4 separate regions of the Homo sapiens genome follow, and regions 1, 2 and 3 are each linked to region 4. Evidence: promoter capture Hi-C in 16 types of primary human blood cells and fetal thymus (Javierre and others, 2016). All regions are on one chromosome and are shown on one strand. Each heading gives the region's core, a stretch centred on a gene start or on the middle of the fragment in contact. The rest is flanking DNA. Distances are from core to core; before and after follow the strand shown. Region 1 holds the start of AGL (amylo-alpha-1,6-glucosidase and 4-alpha-glucanotransferase). Region 2 holds the start of SERBP1 (SERPINE1 mRNA binding protein 1). Region 3 overlaps LRRC40 (leucine rich repeat containing 40). Region 4 holds the start of HS2ST1 (heparan sulfate 2-O-sulfotransferase 1).

What was found. The method cuts DNA at HindIII sites, captures the fragments that hold promoters and counts their contacts. A CHiCAGO score of 5 or more calls a contact.
Region 1: a contact is called between the fragment with the promoter of AGL here and the fragment with the promoter of HS2ST1 in region 4, in 1 of 17 cell types (non-activated CD4 T cells). The highest score is 8.2, in non-activated CD4 T cells.
Region 2: a contact is called between a fragment that was not itself captured here and the fragment with the promoter of HS2ST1 in region 4, in 1 of 17 cell types (non-activated CD4 T cells). The highest score is 8.2, in non-activated CD4 T cells.
Region 3: a fragment that was not itself captured here is called in contact with the fragment with the promoter of HS2ST1 in region 4 in 3 of 17 cell types (non-activated CD4 T cells, total CD8 T cells and activated CD4 T cells); the score reaches 12.8 in non-activated CD4 T cells.

The regions. Positions count from the first base shown.
Region 1 is chr1:99,848,768-99,851,954 of GRCh38, reverse strand. It overlaps AGL (amylo-alpha-1,6-glucosidase and 4-alpha-glucanotransferase), which reads right to left and starts at 1,594. Exons shown (of 34, transcript NM_000642.3): 1 at 1,540-1,594; 2 at 831-980. The coding sequence starts at 912. RefSeq lists enhancers at 500-1,473, 2,124-2,273, 1,474-2,448 and a silencer at 1,624-1,943. The HindIII fragment of the contact is 4,640 bases long and covers 1-3,187 here.
Region 2 is chr1:67,427,255-67,430,416 of GRCh38, reverse strand. SERBP1 (SERPINE1 mRNA binding protein 1) reads left to right here and starts at 15. Exons shown (of 8, transcript NM_001018069.2): 1 at 15-429. The coding sequence starts at 117. RefSeq lists enhancers at 1-133, 1-206, 842-1,478. The HindIII fragment of the contact is 1,041 bases long and covers 805-1,845 here.
Region 3 is chr1:70,196,674-70,199,879 of GRCh38, reverse strand. The region is part of intron 1 of LRRC40 (leucine rich repeat containing 40); the gene reads left to right. Among named protein-coding and RNA genes, the nearest start is that of LRRC40, 7.3 kb to the left of the region's middle. The HindIII fragment of the contact is 4,461 bases long and covers 1-3,206 here.
Region 4 is chr1:86,912,610-86,915,884 of GRCh38, reverse strand. It overlaps HS2ST1 (heparan sulfate 2-O-sulfotransferase 1), which reads right to left and starts at 1,250. Exons shown (of 7, transcript NM_012262.4): 1 at 725-1,250. The coding sequence starts at 848. SELENOF (selenoprotein F) reads left to right here and starts at 1,759. Exons shown (of 5, transcript NM_004261.5): 1 at 1,759-1,857. The coding sequence starts at 1,774. RefSeq lists enhancers at 1,510-1,629, 1,680-1,839, 1,233-1,847, 1,950-1,999, 1,848-2,462. The HindIII fragment of the contact is 1,083 bases long and covers 549-1,631 here.

The DNA.
Region 1 (3,187 bases), core at 345-2,844, about 13 Mb before region 4:
GGAAAAAGGCGCGGATTTGGCATGAAGATATCACATTGTATGTGTGAAATTTTTTTCAAAAATTTAATTCTTAAAACATTAGCGAAATTTAAAAATTCCTTTGAAATGTTTATGACTAGCAACATCCATTTGGTACATTAATAAGGGGGACTGGATTTTTCATATATTACACTTCTTCAATGTTGAAAAATTACAAAGGCTAAGAAAATAAAACATCTATTAACTAGCCTTGTAGAAAAGTAATTTGATCTTTTAAATACAGATCAACTATATATAGTTCAACATAACCAGATGAGTTATTGCACTTTTTATTTGCTAAGAAAATATTTTCAGCTTTTACCTACTCCACATTTGAGAAGTTTTTGATATACATAAACAATAGTTTACTATACTTTTTGCTGCAATCTATTTTGTCAATTCAAAGGTTCAACAAAGGAAAAGAGACAGTTATACAAAGGCAAAACTACATGCATACCCAAAGCAAAATTACATATGAAGTAATTTACCAAGTTTTAATAGTAAATGTTATTAGAAATAATATGGGCAATCTTCTGATCATATATTTAACTTCAATCTTAAGTGGGAATTAGTACGCAGAGAAAAGAGAACTATTTTATCCTTATCCTAACACGAGGGATATAAAATATTTTTAATTCAAATCAACATTAATTAGTGATATATGGAGAACACAGCACCATCTTTGCACAAATCAAGTTTTAGACCCTTGGAAATAATATTTATCTTAGAGCTTTAAAACATTTAACAGGACTGCCAATGAATTAAAAGTTTAAAAGACGCAAATGAGCAAATCAAAACAACTTGCTACTGACCTTGTTCAAGTCTGAAGAGGGTCTTTTCCAGTTTCTCCATTTCGTTCAGAAGTAAAATTCGAATCTGTTTACTGTGTCCCATTTTGGCTTCTAGAGGATTTGAAATCTTTCATAAGAATTAAAAGAACTCCACAGTCGAATGAGTTACCCCTATGAAACAAAAAGGAGTTAAAATATCGAAAATAACTATTGCCTTAAACTCTCCAGAGCTGACAGCGGCACTTACATGTTCGAAGTGTGTTTTATGCCTAGCAGAGCAATGAAAGAGAATGAATCTTATAACTATTAAGATTCGAGAAGGCAAATTAATAGTTGTTTCCTGCCTTTGAGCACAACGAATAAGACCGAAATAAAAATGCTGTATTACAGATTCTTACAATTAAAAAATTAAAAACCTAGACCATTCTCAGAGAAAAGCAATACACTTAGGAAAGCCTGAAGTCAGGGGGACATTCCCAGCCCCAAGCCACAGGGCTCTGGAGACTCCGAATGGCACTTCTGCTTACAAGAGATTAGTCTGCTCAAAGATAACAGGTGGGCAATCTCCCCATTCCCAAATTCGGGTCGCCAGCCACCAATGGGGAGATGAGAACAGAGGGAAGCAGTTGTTGCCTCTGGAATAGCTGCCGTAGACAGAAGATGTACAGAGCGAGCTATAGATAGAAAGAATGCGTTTCCCCGCGAGGCCAGCGGCATTCCTAGCACTTACGCCGAGGGAGTTATACGTGCGGCTTCTGGGGCACTGCAGGACCCGCGACTCTGGTGCTACGGTCGGGGGGAGGGGACGGGGAGAAACAGAAGGGGAAGGGCTGGCTGCCCAGCCTCGCACAGAAGCCGCAGCCCAAGGAGGGCCGGGCGCCGTGAAGGGCAAAGGGAGGGGCGGCGAGCGACCGGGGCAGCGCCGAGGCAGCTGGGTGAGAAGCAGGCAGAGTCTCAGCGACTTCGCCTCGCGCGGGTTCCTGGGCGCACCCGGTACCCAACCTGGCCGTGCGCGCACTCGCCCCAGGTGGGAGCGGACCGTACCTCTGGCCCACTTCCGGGAGGCTCGACCCGCCCGCCCCGACCGCTAGTCTCGCGAGAGCGTGGGCACCGCACCGTCTCAGTCGGCTCCGGGCCGGGGGACCTGGAGCCTGCTGCGGCTGAGGCCGGGAGCGGCGCTTTCTCCTTGCCCTGGGGAAGGTGCACCGGCCAAGGCGCGGCCTTCCTTTAACAGCCTGCGAGCTCACAGTTGCACATTAAAATCCCGCGGTACCGGCTGCGAGCTAGGTTGAGCTGCACAGTAGGATCTTTTGCTGGGAAGGGCTGAATGGTGAGGGGCAAACGACCTGGCTTCTGGTGTCTTTTGTGCCACCACGTGTTTTGTTTCTTTGTTTTGATAATTTTTACTTGGCCTAAGTTCTCAGAGTCCTGATTTCTAAGTGTCTAAAATAAGGGGCCTGGCTACAGCCTTGACATTCCAGCCAACACGTGTCCATCACTTCTAGTGCTAACAGACAGGACACATGTTCCTGAATGCAGACCCAGTAGGTAAGGTGTGGCCAGTCTGCAAACCATCGAGAGTGCAAACACCACTGATACTTAACGGTGTCCGGGTGTACCTCATGTACACTAGATAGACCCGGAGATCGTCTGAGATTAAGCTGCACTTATGTTAGGCCAGTAACTCAGAACTTTTTGCAGATGCTTAAGGAGATTTAATGCCTGAGGGTAAAGGAAAACCCATCTTCCAGGGCTTTTGGAGGGCTCCTAATGGTTATGAGAAAATGGACAGAAGATTTGGTTAACTAAGACTTGTGGCGTGTGGAGAAGATTCTTGCATTCTTTATTGTGGAATGACTGTAGGTCCAAAGAGGATATAAGTTAAAAAAAAAAACCCCATACTGAAGTATTTGTTTATTTCTGTAGATTTCTGAGAATGGCTAGTTGCAAATGGTCCGTAACTGACTTTGGGAACCCACAGCTCATTTTCTGGCCCCTACTATTTGCCAGGCACATAAGGTGCTGGGAATGCAGCAATAAAACAGTCACTGCCCTCAAGGAACTCCTACATTTTATTGGTGGGAGACAGATAAATTAAATAAATTATACAGGATATAATATATCCTATATAATAAGAAGGATATGTTATATCCTATATATAATAGGAAGGGGGAAGTGTGGAAGAGTAAGCAGAGAGAGGTTTGCATTTCTAAATATAACGTTCAGTAAAGTGATGCCAAACTGCGAGAAAGAAGAAGTCTAAGGTAGAGGGTTACATGTAGAGGTATAGGAAGTACAAAGGCCATGAGGCAGGAGCATACTTGGTGAACCGAAGAAGATCACCATAGCTGAGTGAAGAAGAGAGTGGTAAGAGATTA
Region 2 (3,162 bases), core at 76-2,575, about 19 Mb after region 4:
AGAAGACGGCCCCCCTCTCTCGGCCCGGCCATCTTGTGGGAAGAGCTGAAGCAGGCGCTCTTGGCTCGGCGCGGCCCGCTGCAATCCGTGGAGGAACGCGCCGCCGAGCCACCATCATGCCTGGGCACTTACAGGAAGGCTTCGGCTGCGTGGTCACCAACCGATTCGACCAGTTATTTGACGACGAATCGGACCCCTTCGAGGTGCTGAAGGCAGCAGAGAACAAGAAAAAAGAAGCCGGCGGGGGCGGCGTTGGGGGCCCTGGGGCCAAGAGCGCAGCTCAGGCCGCGGCCCAGACCAACTCCAACGCGGCAGGCAAACAGCTGCGCAAGGAGTCCCAGAAAGACCGCAAGAACCCGCTGCCCCCCAGCGTTGGCGTGGTTGACAAGAAAGAGGAGACGCAGCCGCCCGTGGCGCTTAAGAAAGAAGGTAAAGCAGGGGCAGAATGTGGGGGAGACTGGGATGGAGGGAAGGAGCGAGGGGGCTGCCGGCTGCCACTTGTTTCTGGAGCTCCGAGGGTCCGCGGGAGACTTTGCCGCCTATATCCTCACGTTTCTTCACGCGACAAAAGTCCGGTCCTGCGAAGGTGCCAGGAGCGTGGTAGCCCCAAGTTCAAGCCACCGCCGGCGAGGTTCTCGGAGCCATCCCCTTCCCGCCTCAGGTTGTGAGCAGAGGAGCGTGGTCGGAGATGAGCTGCTCCTCGAGCGCGCTCGAGGTCCTGGGAGGCTGTTGCCTTCCCGCCGGATTCCTTGGCGGGTGAGCGCATGGACTGAGGTGCGGGGAAGCCGGCCCCTCACCGAAGCTTTCCGTAGTTACGGAGGAGCTTGGGGGTCCATCGCTGCTTACTGCGCAGAGCTGCTCCTTTGAGGTGCTGTTGTTTCAGGCTCCTGTCCTGCCGTCTTGTCCCACGACGGCGCGGAGTATCCCCGCTGAAAAGCAGGGGGTCGTTCCAGGCCATCAGACGTGTGGAGTAAGCTGCAGGTTGGGGTGCCGCATGTCCTTTATTTGTTTCTCTTCCACCTCTCAACTGTTAGGACTTTCTCATAACTTGCTGGGGTGAGTTGAGCCGTTGGGAAATGGAGGAGTTTGGCCACACTCGATTAACCAGGAGCGGGAATTATGAATGAAGACTGGTGATTGCAGGACATCCCGAGGAACGTCCTCGAGTCACGATCCTCTCTCTCGACTCCCCAAACTGAATCTTTCACGTGGTGGGGTCTGGGCCTCGTGGGTGAAGTGAGTGCAGAGGCTGTCACAGCGTTAGTCGCAGCAGAGCTCTTTAGAGTTCGCAGTTTTTTTTTTCCACCACATGTGCGTGAAGCATGGTCAGAGTTTCACTGGCGGTTAATAGTTGTTTCTAGGGCACTGTGAGTTTCACAGGATTGTCTTGATTTTTGCATTCGCTTTACCAGTTTGTTGCGGATGAAAAAAAAGAGCAAGCAGTTTGGAGATAAGAACGTGCATGATCAATAGCAAGCAGGTGTTGGACCTAAGGTCTGAATCTTTAAAGCTGCATTTATATGTTGAAAGTTGAAATTACCCCTTCCTGCCACGTGCTTCTCTGAAAGGAGTTGTTTCTCTTTAGCTTTAGTTGAATTCTGTAACAGTGAACTAATTTTAAAAATCAAAACAATTTTCTCGTGGTAGGATTTGTTTTAGGAGGGTTTTTTTTTTTTTTTTTGAGGACTTTTGTGAGGCTCGGAATGAAGAACCTCGGTCCTAGGTGGTGAATAAAAGAAAATAATTAATTCTTGTGGTAAAATTATAGGTTGAGGAAAAATACAGTTGGAGTATTAGAAAGCATGTATATCACTTAGGCCAAGTATCTCTTCAGCCAGTTAAGCTTTATGGCAATCTAGCACAATTAAATAAATCATTTAATTCGTGTGTTAAGTAACGCTGACTTGTGTAATTATTTAAACTATGCTTAAGCTTAAGAAAGTACACGAAAAAGTTGAATCTGACGAATAATGTGTACCAGGTAGATGTGTTCACTCATTTTGAATGTTCAAAACATGAAGCATGGTTTAAATGCCTGAGTTATTTTGATCATGAAGCCCATCTATGAAATAAGCTCTTACCTGAAAAGTAGTATTTTAAGTTAACAAATGTGGGGAATGATTTCATGAAGTTAGAACCAAGACTTAGGTTCACCGTTCAATGAGTCTTTCCATGGGAAAACTATTCCATGTTAGCAATCAGCATTTTCCTTAGGTCAGTATTTCAGAGCACTACTGTTAAGTTGCATAAAATACAAGCATGTAAAATACAGGAAAAGTGTTGAATGGACAATACCCGTTTTGAGATTCTACTGTCCTGATTACTGGGAATAAATCTGTAAACAAAGTCGCTGCATGTAGTAGGAAGGTTAACCTGATTGTGTTCTGTGATTTTGATAACACATTGTGACATAATACTTGACATACTTTAGACAGATATTTAATGTTTATGTTTTATGAATTAATTTTGTACATTCTCTTGCCCATTTGAAGAACTTGAGAATTGACAGCAGAATGTCATTGAGAGTGTAGACCAGGGATTTTCTAAAAAAGAATGAATGCCTTGAAACTAGTGCAGTTAGTGAGCTTGCAAGTTATAGATAAGTATATCAAAAGAAGCTTGCATTTTTAAATGTCAGTCTTTTTCATTAGGTAGGTTTAATACGTTTTTAAGATTCTGTAAACTTGATATTGGGTGGGGACGCCAACTATTGTTCACTTGGGTGTGTTTGGCTTGGATATTATTGCAAGGACTGGTTCCATAACTCCACCCCAGTGCACTTTATTACTGATGACATTTATTTAAATACCTTGGTGTAAGGTCTAATATTTGTAGTCTATCTTGAGTATTTACAGGGAATGAACTTCAAAATTCTATTGAAGAGATTGATAGTTACTGTTTGGCTCCAGTTAACAGGCAGCAGAACAACTGGGTGTGTCTTGATGGTGTTCTACTTTCTTAGAAAGAACCAAAGTGAAGCAGCTTAAAATCTTGTAAAACCAATTCCTCAGCTGCTTTATGACTTTGTCAGAAATTGGGAATTAGAGCATACCAACAATCTTAAAGTCATTAATTTAACCATCAATCTGTTGATCCTTATGGGCACCAATAATTTAAATTGGTTGCCTTTGTGGGGTTTCAGACATTACAGGAAAAAAGTAG
Region 3 (3,206 bases), core at 263-2,762, about 17 Mb after region 4:
GGGTGTTTAGGTATACAGTTGACCCTTAAATAATTCAGGGGTTGTGGGGCTGACTCCCTTGTGCAGTCAAAAATCCATGTATAACTTTTGACTCCCCCAAAACTTAACTACTAATAGCTTACTGTTGACTAGAAGCCTTACTGATAACATAAACAGTCAATTAACATATATTTGTATATTATATGTATTATATACTACGTTCTTACAATAGTAAGCTAGAGAAAAGAAAATGTTATTAAGAAAATCATAAGGAAGAGAAAATATATTTACTATTCATCAAGTGGAGTGGATCATCATAAAGGTCTTCATTCTCATCTTCACATTGAGTAGGCTGAGGAGGAGGAGGAAAAGGAGGGGATGGTCTTGCTTTCTCACGGGTGGCAGAGGCAGCAGAAAATCCATATATAAGTGAACCTGTGCAATTCAAACCCATATTGTGCGAGGATAAACTGTACTTTGTTTTTGTAGGCTCTAGTTCTTTTTTGAAAAATACCATTTATTATTTTCGTATTCATAAAAGCAGGTCTGCTGTAGAAAGATTAGAATCTATAGAGAAAAGCATAAAAAGTGAAGAAGCCAACCAGAGTTAGTCACTGTTAATGTTGTGGAGGTTTTTCTTCTAATACTGTGTGTGTGTGTGTGTGTGTGTGTGTGTGTGTGTGTGAGACTATGTATAATTTGACTGCTATTTTTTATTTTTTTATCTAATTTAGTTTATTTATTGATTGAGACAGGATCTCACTCTGTTGCCCAGGCTGGAATGCAGTGGTGAGATCACGGCTCACTGCAGCCTTGACTTCCTTATCTCAAAAGTGATTTTCCCACCTCAGCTCCCTGAGTGTCTGAGACTACAGGGATGTGCCACCATGCCTGGCCAATTTTTATATTTTTTGTAGAGATGAGGTCTTGCTATGTTACCCAGGCTGGTCTTGATCTCCTGAGCTCAAGCGACCTGTCCAACTCACCCTCCCAAAGTGCTGGGATTACAGGCATGAACTGTTGTGCCTGGCCCTATTTTTTATTTTTAACAAATTTAGAATTGTACTGACTCCTGTTTTTCTGGCTTCTATTTGTACATTTTCCTTGTCACTTGAAAAATCTTATTATTTTTAGTGGCTGTATAATAGTCCATCTTATGACTACTATTAATTAATATGTATTCATATTTAAACATTCAAATTTTGTTCGCAATTTTTAAGTAATCATTCTGAGTGTCAGTTCTATAACTTATTTAGAAAGATATTCTCAAATAGGAATAATTGTTAATAACCAACTTCAAAGAAAAATACTGTACATGTAAGTGACAGCTCTTTTTATGAGCAGCAACATGAGAATATGTTGTCAGTTTGGTTCAATATTGCAGCTCTTTTTCGTCGGACTAGATAAAATGAAGATGGAGTTGGAGGTGTTGATCGTTGCTTTCCAGTTGCATGACCATGGTAGAACAGTAGTGCAAGAATGTTATTGGATGATTATCTAAAACTGAGGAAAAATAAAAGGTGCCAGAGTTTGGAACAAAAGAATACTGTAAATTCTAATGGAAACTGCACTGTTGATCTGAAAGGCAAATTAAGAGGATAATTCATTAAATAAGCCAGTTAAATTAGCTTGGAAACCAATTATTTGAAAGGGAAATATGGGTGTAAGGCTATCCTGCCTTATCTTGAAGAGAGCAGTTTGGTTAGCTTTTATTTGTGTAGTTAAGTAATTTGGTCTAGGGCACCTAATCATGAAGAAAACCTACTATTTTAGGGTAATGAGAATTTGCCCTATTCAATATGTATAGTTTGTTGGGACAGAATAAAAAGTGTGACACGGGGTCAGGTGCTGTGGCTCACACCTTTAATACCAACACTTTGGGAGGTGGAAGCAGGCGGATCACTTGAGCCTGGGAGTTCAAGACCAGTCTGGGCAACAAGGCAAAACTTCGTCTCTACTAAAAATACAAAAATTTGTATTTTTAGTAGAGATGGGGTTTTACCATGTTGGTCAGGCTGGTCTCAAACTCCTGACCTCAGGTGATCCACCTGCCTTGACCTCTCAAAGTGCTGGGATTACAGGCATGAGCCACTGCACCCAGCCACATTCTTTTATCCTTCTGTGCAAACACCATTTTAAGCATGTTTTTTATTTCTTCTCTGTCTCTTTATCCACCCATATCATATAAATGTCCTCCCCAAACTAGATAGTTCTCTGTGATCAACCCATTTGTGAGTCCTCATTTCTATATTTAGCTGTTACCAGTGGAAAAAAGAGTAAGACAGTTTGCTTAAAAAAAAAAAAAAAGCCGGGGGTTGGGGGGGCCAGGTGTGATTGCCCATGATTATAATCCCAGCACTTTGGGAGGCCAAGGTGGGAGGATCACTTGAGACCAGGAGTTTGAGACCAATCTGGGCAACATAATGAGACCCTGTCTCTACAAAAAATAAGCTGGATGTGGTGGCACATGCCTGTAGTCCTCATAGTTCTAGCTACTTGGAAGACGGAGGCAGGAGGATCTCCTGAAGCCATGAGTTCGAGGCTGCAGTGAGTTATGATCACACCACTGTACTCCAGCCTGGGTGACAGGCTCTCAAAAAAAAATAAAATAAAATAAAAAAATACATCTATACATCTTCCTCCCCCCCGCCGCCCCCCAGTATCTATAAGGACCATGTTGTCCATTGTGGAAGCCTGTACTCATGTTGGCTTTTTAACTTTTAAATAATCAAAATTAAATAAAATTAAAAATCAAGTTCATCAGTTACTTTAACCACATTGCAAGTGCCCAGTAGCCATATGTGGCTAGTAGCTATCCTATTGAATAGTGCCAACGTAGGGCATTTACGTCATTGTAGAAAGTTCTGTTGAGCCATGCTGCTTAAGGATATTGTATCTACCCTGTGATATATGTTATATGTGTATATTTTTCCGATAGAATTGCCTTGATGTGTTACATCACCTATATTTTAAAATTATTCTTTTTTGGGGTTAACTTTATTGAAGTATCATTTACAAAGAGTATGTTGCATCCATTTTAAGTGTACAGTTTAATGACTTTTGACAAATATATACCATCATGTAACCAGTACTACAATCAAGATATAGAACATTTCCAACATCTTGAAAAGTTTACTTGTGCCCCTTTGCTGTCAATCCTGCTATTGGCTCCACATAACTACGGATCTGCTTTTTGTCAATGTAGATTAATTTTAGTTCTTTTAAAA
Region 4 (3,275 bases), core at 1-2,500:
GTGAAGCAACATACATAGGCATCCCTATTCTCAAGCCCCAATTCATCAGTTTAGCGCCACTAAAGAAGAATTTAAATCTCCGGACCCTCATTTCCGTACTCCGATGAAGCTTTGCACTCGCGTTCCCGCACTACCCGGCCAGCCTCCCTCAGCTGGCAATTACAAGGTCCTTTGCTGCCCGGAGCACAAGAGTGCAACTCGCTACAGTGTTCACATGTTGCTCTCCGTCATCCCAGCATCTCCTCCCATTTCTGCGCACCTATCCCTTCATGAGCCCCCAAAAGAATTCGTATCCAGATGCCCATAGCTCAAATTAGAATACCCCTCATCTGACATTGCCAGGGCTTCCTGTACGACTTCCAAGAGAACACGCGATGCTAAGCGCTTCTGTCTCCGGAGACCAGCAACACACGCTCCCCACTGAGTTCGGTCTTCTCTCTCGCTCTCTCTCCGCGGAATGCCTACTTCGGGGCTACCCTTTGGCTAGGGAAGCCCAACCTTGCAACCTCTGCCCCGTGACCTCGCGAGCCCAGCACGCCGCTCAAGCTTAATTCAACCCATTCTTGGAGCTCGTGCTCTCGCTGCCCCTTGTTCCCGGTTCTCTTTGAAACCGCTTTCAGCCCCCGAGCCAGACCCCAGGTTAGATGAACGCCCACTTGCTCCGGCGGCAGCGCCTCCTCGGCCCCTTCCACAGCACTCAGCCCGGGGCAGTTCAGTTCCTCACCTAGCTTCGAGCGGGACTCCTCCAGTTTCTGGATCTGGTTTTCCAAGAAGAGCATCGCCACCGCGAAGGCCACCACCGCCAGCAGCTGCAACTTGGGCGGCATCATAATCCTGAGGAGCCCCATGAAACCCGCTGCTCGGGATCAAGACATACCGCGGGGGGCGGGGAGCGGGACCCCGGAGGCGAGAGAGACGCCGGGAGGAGCCCGCCGAGCCGGGAGCGAGGCAAAGAGAGAGCGACAGCGAGAGAACCACCGCAGCGACCCCCCTTCTCGCCTCTCCAGTCCCCCTCCCCCAGGCGCTATCACCAACGCCGCTGGTGTCCGCTTCTCCTCAGCCGACTAAACGGCCGCCCCCTCCAAAAGCCCGCGCAGCAAACAGCGCGAAGCGGCTGCCGGGCTCTCGCCTCCCTCTACTGCCTCAGTCCCCGACCCCCGCGCCCGCCTGCTTGCCCGCCTCCCTCTCTTCCTTCCTTCCCTCCCTCCTTTGCTCGCGGCCGCGCGCCCCTCCACCGGCGCTGCGGCTGCGCCGCCCTCATCCCCGCCCCCGCCCATCCCCCTCCGCCACCACGCGCACGCATCCGCGTACGCTGCTCGGCAACCAGAAGCCCCGCCCCTCCCCCCGTTCGGGTCCGCTTATTGGACGGAAGAGCCCCTGCGCTTCGCTCTTGGTTCGGTTTACGGTTGGTTTCCTCTGCCACAGAGCTCAATCAAGACGACATTCAATTGGGTAAACTTGGAGAAGAAGGCGGGGCTAAAACTGGCGAAGGCGTGGCTTCTTGGCTGCTTGACGAAGTGTCGTGAATAAAAGAAAGGAGACCGCAGAAGTAAAGAAGTGGGGAGTTTAGGCAAGTGCCTGATTTGGGTAATCGAAAGCACCCAGTGATTGTATTTGATGACTTTTAAGCTTTCATATGCCGTTATTTAATACCTGTCACTTCCAAATGAGAGATGTAAGGGCAACGGCCGTTAGCGTTCTGTTTTGGATCAGGCTCTGGAGTGGACGCCCCTAGCTTAGGGGTCCTTCTAGGCAGCCAGAAACCTGCGGAAAATGGTAGCGATGGCGGCTGGGCCGAGTGGGTGTCTGGTGCCGGCGTTTGGGCTACGGTTGTTGTTGGCGACTGTGCTTCAAGCGGTGAGTGTAGATCACCTTCGCAGCTGCCACAGGGAGAGTAGGAGTGATTGCAGCTGAGAAAGACGCAACATTCGGTCCTGGTTGAAAAGGGTGGGGAGGACTGCGCTTCCTTAATGACTGCTGCGGCCAGAATGCAACGTGGCTTAATTTCTCGGTTGATCCTTCTCCTTCCCCGCCTTGGGTTTCTAGCAGCAGTTTTCTCTTGATTTCAGATTGTCTTGGGTACGTAGCTTCTCTTATACGGCTCTTGCTAAAAACAATCTGTAAACCACACCAGGTGGGAGGGGGGAATAATAAAGCTTGGCAAGAAGTGGAGGTTGTTTTTAAATGGACAGAAATGCAAGAGACTCATGACGAGACTTCCAACTCTTAGAGGCAAGTCTTCAAGTCGTTGGTCCAGGCGAACAGTTTGTGTTTACCTCTCTCGCGCGCGTGCTCTCTCATTTTCACTACTTCTGTTAGTCTCTTAACTTCCGTTCTCCTCTGCTATTCATATACGGCTGGCTGCGCTTGAGTGCGATTTGTGCTTTTAAACAATGTTGTTGGAGTAAAAGGAGTTATCTATACCAAAGTATAATTCATTTTTGAAGTTAGTTTTTTAAATGATGTTCGTTGTCTTCTTTAAGGCAGCGTTTTTTATTTCATTTTTCTCTATTGGCAGAATAGATGGGTGACCTTTGAATGGGAAAAGTGTACTTTTAACTTATTTCTTCTCATATCCATGTTCTGCTGTGTGAATAGTAAAATTTTAGGCACAGTGCTGAAAGCTTTTACGTTTTTTTATCCTAGCTTAATTCTTCGGGTAGTCTCTAATAAGGAGACCTGGTTTAATTTACTTATCCAAGGTTGAGGGTGTTAAGGGACTACACCGGAGTCCTCTATGAACACCTGTACTTACCTTTCTCAAAGAGCTTGAAAGCATCCTGGCTGTTTGCTTTGGCTACTTTAACCAAAAGGTAGATTCTTAACTTCTGTAATTAACATTCCAATTATCTTGTTATTCAGGCATTTGGTGCTAGGAATTACTGGATCACCTCTCCCTAAACTTTCTACTGTTTAAGGGTTTTTGCACATCTTTAGGTCATTCGAGATAACATTTCAGGTTGTCTTTTTTTGATCTCCCTCTGTCTTTGACTGTCAGTTGTCTATAGCTGTGTAACCGCCCTAAAACCTAGTAGCTTAAAACAGCAATGATTTCTCATAATTCTGGGTCAGTGGAGTAGAACTACTCCACCTATGTTGGTTTTCCCCTGGCCTCATTTATGCTTTTTGTTGACCTAGTAGGTCAGCTAAACCGAAAGGTTCCAGGATTACCACTGTTTATAGTTGGTGCTGTCAGCTCGAGGACTTGGTTCTGTTCCGTGTGACCTCTCATCCTCCAGTCGGCTAGACCAACTTCTTTTCATGGCACTCTCAGG